Regions from separate parts of the Homo sapiens genome. Here region 1 is linked to region 2. Evidence: promoter capture Hi-C in human tissues and cell types (Jung and others, 2019). All regions are on one chromosome and are shown on one strand. Each heading gives the region's core, a stretch centred on a gene start or on the middle of the fragment in contact. The rest is flanking DNA. Distances are from core to core; before and after follow the strand shown.

The links. Contacts are between HindIII fragments. The study calls those that stand out against the background at their distance.
Region 1: the fragment with the promoter of TMEM50A here is called in contact with a fragment that was not itself captured in region 2 in 1 of the 25 tissues and cell types used here (dorsolateral prefrontal cortex).

The regions. Positions count from the first base shown.
Region 1 is chr1:25,336,863-25,339,652 of GRCh38, reverse strand. TMEM50A (transmembrane protein 50A) reads right to left here and starts at 1,319. Exons shown (of 7, transcript NM_014313.4): 1 at 1,197-1,319. It also overlaps a transcript of RSRP1 not described here. RefSeq lists silencers at 1,370-1,489, 2,481-2,775. The HindIII fragment of the contact is 15,215 bases long and covers 1-2,790 here.
Region 2 is chr1:25,606,686-25,609,489 of GRCh38, reverse strand. No RefSeq gene overlaps it. Among named protein-coding and RNA genes, the nearest start is that of MAN1C1, 8.7 kb to the left of the region's middle. The HindIII fragment of the contact is 7,929 bases long and covers 1-2,804 here.

The DNA of each region.
Region 1 (2,790 bases), core at 70-2,569, 270 kb after region 2:
GGCTCTGAGTGGAATTACAGATTCAAATGAAAAATATTTCTCTAATTTACATATTTTATCACAGAACGTGTGTTTCTTCACACCTAAATCAAGAAATTAAACACTGCACTGCAGTTCTTACCTCTACCCACATCATTTCCTTTCACTTCATTCATTATTTTTCTTTCTGCAAGCCTGCCTTTTGGTGTCATTTCTATATAAAGAACATCCACTTTAATATCCCTATCTCTGATCCTAACGGGTGTTTCCAGCCAAAAGCAAGCACAGAATCGTGGTTAATAGTAATTCAGATTACAAAAATCCAACTGCTATTTAAATATAGCCGACCCAAGCTGTCTTTACAAATTATATAAAACATTCCTGTAAGCCGAGCAGTAGAGACCTGAGATACAGCCATGTTATCTCTATTTCAGAGTATGAAAAAGCCTGAAATACATATAACTTGCGAATAACAACACCCAAACTCCTACAGCGAACTTGACTTCCTTAAGATACTTTGTAGCCAGCAATTATGGTTGTCCAAAAATATGACACCCTACAATAGAGCAACGTCTCCCATTTTTAACTTCTCTTTTAAAAATTAAATATTAAAATATATGATTACAGCCAATGCTAAGATGCCTTTGGGACAAGTTCAATTTAGGAAATTCACTCATTTGATTCTTCCCCGGGAAGAACTGCAATTCAATAAGTGTTATTTTCGGTTCATCCCAATGGCCCCACCCCGAATCCATTTTTCTTTGCACGACGACTGGTACGCTCAAGCCAGACCCCGCCCTCCAAACTCTGGGACTTTTAGGTCTCGAGGGACGCCGCTGGAAGATGGGGGAGCCACCTTTAGCCGGGGCACCCCTCGCTGAGGGAGCTGGCCGGGTCACGCTCCTTTCTCGGGGCTTCGGCTTGTCCAGCTGTGAAGTGGGGGATCGGGGGATTTTCCAGGGATCCTGGGGTGTCCCGGGGGAGGGCGCGGTCCCCTCTCCGTCTTGGCGGGGTCTGGACGCCGTCGCCTTCTCCTGGCGCCGCCGGACCCAGGAGAGGAGAGGTCCGCGGCGGCTCAGCCCGGGTCTGCGGCTTCCGGGAGGGTGGCGGCAACGAGCCTGTGCTGTGGGCACCAGCCCGTCAGACGGCCCCGGCTCCGAGGCCTCTCCAGCCTGCGGCCGCTACTCTCTTACCCCCACTCCCCGCCCGACACTTACGTCCAGCCCCGTCGTGCAGTGGTTCCGGAGCCCGGTGTCGCGCCGCGCCGGCCCGCCTCACTCCCCCGATTTTAGCCAAGAAAACAAAACGGCCACAGCCTCCAGACACCCGGATGCAGCAGTACCATCCACCCGGCTCAGTCGCGCATGCGGACACGGGGCGGAGGGCGGGGCGCCGGGTCCGGAGGGAGCCACGCCCACCACAACAACGCGTCTGCGCATGCCCGGGCGCTGGGTTCAGGGGCTTTCCGCCGCTCTGGGTTCACAGCTGGACGTCGGGAGTGCTAGTTTGGAGTACGCCATTTGAGAGTAGGCGTGAGAAGTTGCTCTGTGTGCTGAGCGTTCTAAAGGAAGGCGTCCGTTGGCCTTCGTACCCGTCTTGAGTGAGGTGACGAGTGTTTTCTAGTACTGGGGTCGGCCGCGCAGCCCTCTCAGGGGTGGGTGGCAGGAAGAGTGCCGGGTCCCGCGTGGTGCAAAAGGTGGGTTCAGGTTTGCGGCCACACAGCGCTACTCAGGACTTTTTAGTCTTGTTTATTTTCTCCGTGCCTGTTCCCGCCCCCCGCAGCTCCACCTCTGGGAGAGGGGCGGGTTCAGCTCCAGGAGGCGGGGACTTCCCGGCTTGGCGTGGCTGGGGTGTCCCGTGGACCCCAGTCTCGGCGCGGTGACCCACTTATGGGACTTGGCCTTTCTTTGTTGTTTGTTTAAGGCAGGGTTTCTCAGCCTGGGCACTACTGAGGTTTTGGGCCGGCTAATTCTGTCTGGGTTGGGGAGGGTGCTGTCCCGTGCTTCGCAGGTTGTGTAGCTGCATCCCCCGCCTCTACCCAGTGGATGCAAGTAGCAGCCCCAGTGAACCAAAAATGCCCCCAGACTTTGCCAAATATCCCCTCCCGGGGAAGATCGCCTCGCTTGAGAACCACTGTTGGAGGAGAGCCTGGGTTTTCGGGAGGTAACCGTTTACAAAGGGGAGAACGGTAAGAAGCCGGAAGCAACGATGACTTAGCTACGTGAAAGACTTGCGGCCGGGCTCGCCCCTCTTCTAGAAGCCGTCAGTTTGGGTCTCGCGTCTGGAATCACCGTCAAGGAGTCAGATCCAGCCCCGGAGAGGGAGCAGGGTCGAGGTCTCCTTGCAGAAGGCGCCACCGCAGGAAGCACAGGCGCAACGTGCGGTCTCCCTAGCGGAGGCGCTCGCGATCCTGCAGCCGCCGGTCCGGGAGGTGCTCGGTAGCCCTCCTTGGTGCCTGTCCGGTAGCTGGTCACTCTCGGGGGAAGGTCGTGTGCAGAAGGGCACATGCGATCACACAGAGACGGCGTTGCTGCGGCTTTGACCCGATGGTGCACCCGAAAGAACACAGAGGGTGAAGGGAGAGATCCAGGAAGTGGTCGCGGAGCAGAACCCCCCTTCACTTCAGTTAAAAAGGTGGGTCAATTGTCGTTAAGAGATACGCACAGGTTCATCTGATTGACATGTACGGCGGCAGTATATGAGTGGGATGGGAACCAAGGTGACTGTTGTTTCCTTTGATGGATGAAACTTTCATCCCTTTGGGTTTTTTTGTTTGTTTTTGGCGGTGCATTAGCCGATTAGTAGATAAAA
Region 2 (2,804 bases), core at 224-2,723:
AGAAGGGCATTGTGGTTGTAGCTTTGATTCTCATAAATCCACATTCGAATCCAAGTCTTGCCTCTTCAGGGACACGTAACCTTGGGCAAGTCTCCTCCTCTGAGCATTAGTTTCCTTAGCAGTGATGATAGTACTCAGTATGTTAAATGTTAGTGTTATTAAACGAAGTAAAGAATAGCAAGCTTAAGATTTGAGGTTGATATAGGAAAGAGAAGAAATATTGGGGTTTGAAGAAGAAGTCTCATGGGTTATCTTACTTGTTCCCAAGTCCCACTTCTGCCACTTGATTGGGTGACCTGGGGAGGTCACTCATCTGTCTTAGATCAGTTTCTTCATCTGCAAAGAGGCCCATAATACCTTAAATGAGATGACCCCCGGGCAAGCACTTTGTTAGTAATAAAGCCAAAAAGTCATATTCATTATAGCTGTGATCCCTTTTCAGAAAGAACTGTCAACATTCCACAAATATTTATTGTACCTCACACATGATATAAAAAAAAATTAAACATAACCTAATATTTAAAGTTTTAAATTAAAAATTCTAAACATACTATATTTCTTATTTTATTCCGTTCTACGTTTTAAAAATTATTCTATTCTATGTATTTTAAAGAAATAAAAAAGCTGCACGGAGCTAGTCATTTTGCCCTGTTCGCCAAATAGTTCCAGATCGCTGCCTTTGGGGCACTTGGTGAGATTGCCCCGCCCCCTTGTGGTTGAGTGGAGCCGTGTGACTAGCTGTGGCCAATAAGCTGTGAGCAGAAATGACAACTGTCACTTCGAGTCCCAAGCATTTAATTGAGGGTGCCATATCCTCTAGAGCTGCGACTGTCCCACTAGCAGGGCGACTGACAGTGATGAGATGGCAGCTGCACCCTCCGCCAGGGCCCCGGTGACCAGCAGAGCCTTCTGAGGATCCGCACTGGCTGCACCGGCATGGGGCTTAAATGAGAGATTAATGTGTGTGGTGTAGACTTCTGAGTTTTGGAGCCACTGAATTTTTAACTTTTCAAAAGTTTTTTTTTAAGGTAAAACTAATTTTAATAATATATTTTATTTAATCCCATACATCCAAAAGATTATCATTTCCATTTTTTTTTTTTTTTTTTTTTTTTTTTTTTTGGAGTCAGAGTCTCACTCTCACCCAGGCTGGAGTGCAGTGGTGCGATCTTGGCTCACTGCAGCCTCCGCCTCCCGGGTTCAAGCGATTCTCCTGCCTCAGCCTCCTGAGTAGCTGGGACTACAGGTGCACGCTGCCACGCCCGGCTAATTTTTTGTATTTTAGTAGAGATGGGGTTTCACCATATTGCCCAAGCTGGTCTCAAACTCCTGAGCTCAGACAATCCACCCGCCTCGGCCTCCCAAAGTGCTGGGATTACAGGCGTGTGCCACTGTGTCCAGCCAAATCTTTTTTTTTTTTTTTTTTTGGTAAATCCTTCGTGAGGCCAGGCGCAGTGGCTTATGCCTGTAATCCCAGCACTTTGGGAGGCCCAGGCAGGTAGATCACTTGAGGTCAGGAGCTCGAGACCAGCCTGGCCAACATGGAGAAACCCCATCTCTACTAAAAATACAAAAATTAGCCAGGCCTGGTAGCACAAACCTGTAGTCCCAGCTATGCGGGTGGCTGAGGCAGGAGAATCTCTTGAACCCAGGAGGCGGAAGTTGCAGTGAGCTGAGATCATGCCACTGCACTCCAGCCTGGGCAACAGAGCGAGACTCCATCTCAAAAAAAAAAAAATCCTTCATGAGAAAAGTTATATTCTTTTTTACATACCAAGTCTTACAATCTACAGTGGGTTTTACATTTATAGCCCATCGCAATTCAGGCGAGCCACATTTCCAGTGCACTGCAAGCCCCAGTGGCTTATGGCTGGTTCCTATGGACAGCTGTGCTGTCCAGCAACTTATCATCCCCTAAAACTGAAACTCTGTACTCATTAAACACTAACTCCGCATTCTTCCCATCGCCCAGCCCCTGGTAACCACTATTCTACTTTCTGTTTCTATGAATTTGACTACTTTAAGCACCTCATATAAGTGGAATCATACAGTATTTGTCTTTTTGTGACTGTCTCACTTCACTTAGCGCAGTGTCCTCACAGTTCATCCATTTGGTAGCATGTGACAGAACTTTCTTCCCATTTAAGGCTGAATAATATTCCATCGTGTGTATCTGCCACATTTTCCCTGTCCATTCATCCATCGATGCACACTTGGTTTGCTTCTATGTTTTCGTTATTGTGAATATGCTGCTATGAATATGAGTATGGGTATATAAATGTTGACTCGTTATGATATGTGTGTTGTTGTTGTTAAAATGGAATTGTACCATGCTCACTGCTTAGGCAGTCTGCTTTTTCTAATGTACCAATATGTCAGGAGCATTTCCATGAAATTAAATACTCTTCTACTTAATTGTTCTGAACAGCCAAATAGTACTTCTTATGTGGCTCTATGATTATTTATTTACCCAATCTGCTACCGTTAGACATTTAGGTCATTTCTAATTGTTAATTACATTTGACAAATAGTTTCTCCTTCTCATAATGCCTCATCTCTAACACAGCAGACAGTAGGAGGATACATTCAGATGGAAGACGGCGTGGTCACCCCAGGGCATCCACTGTCACCAGGGTTTTGCCACAGAAGACCCAATATCTTTGTAGCTGTGGAGGGCATAACCTTCTCTGGGCATTGCAAGGAGAGCTGTGCACAGCTGTGCAAAGAGTGTTGGAGTCACGGGGCCGTGAGCAGTTCTGGGTCCTGCCACATTCAAGCCCTCAGACATCCACTCTGAGCCTGTT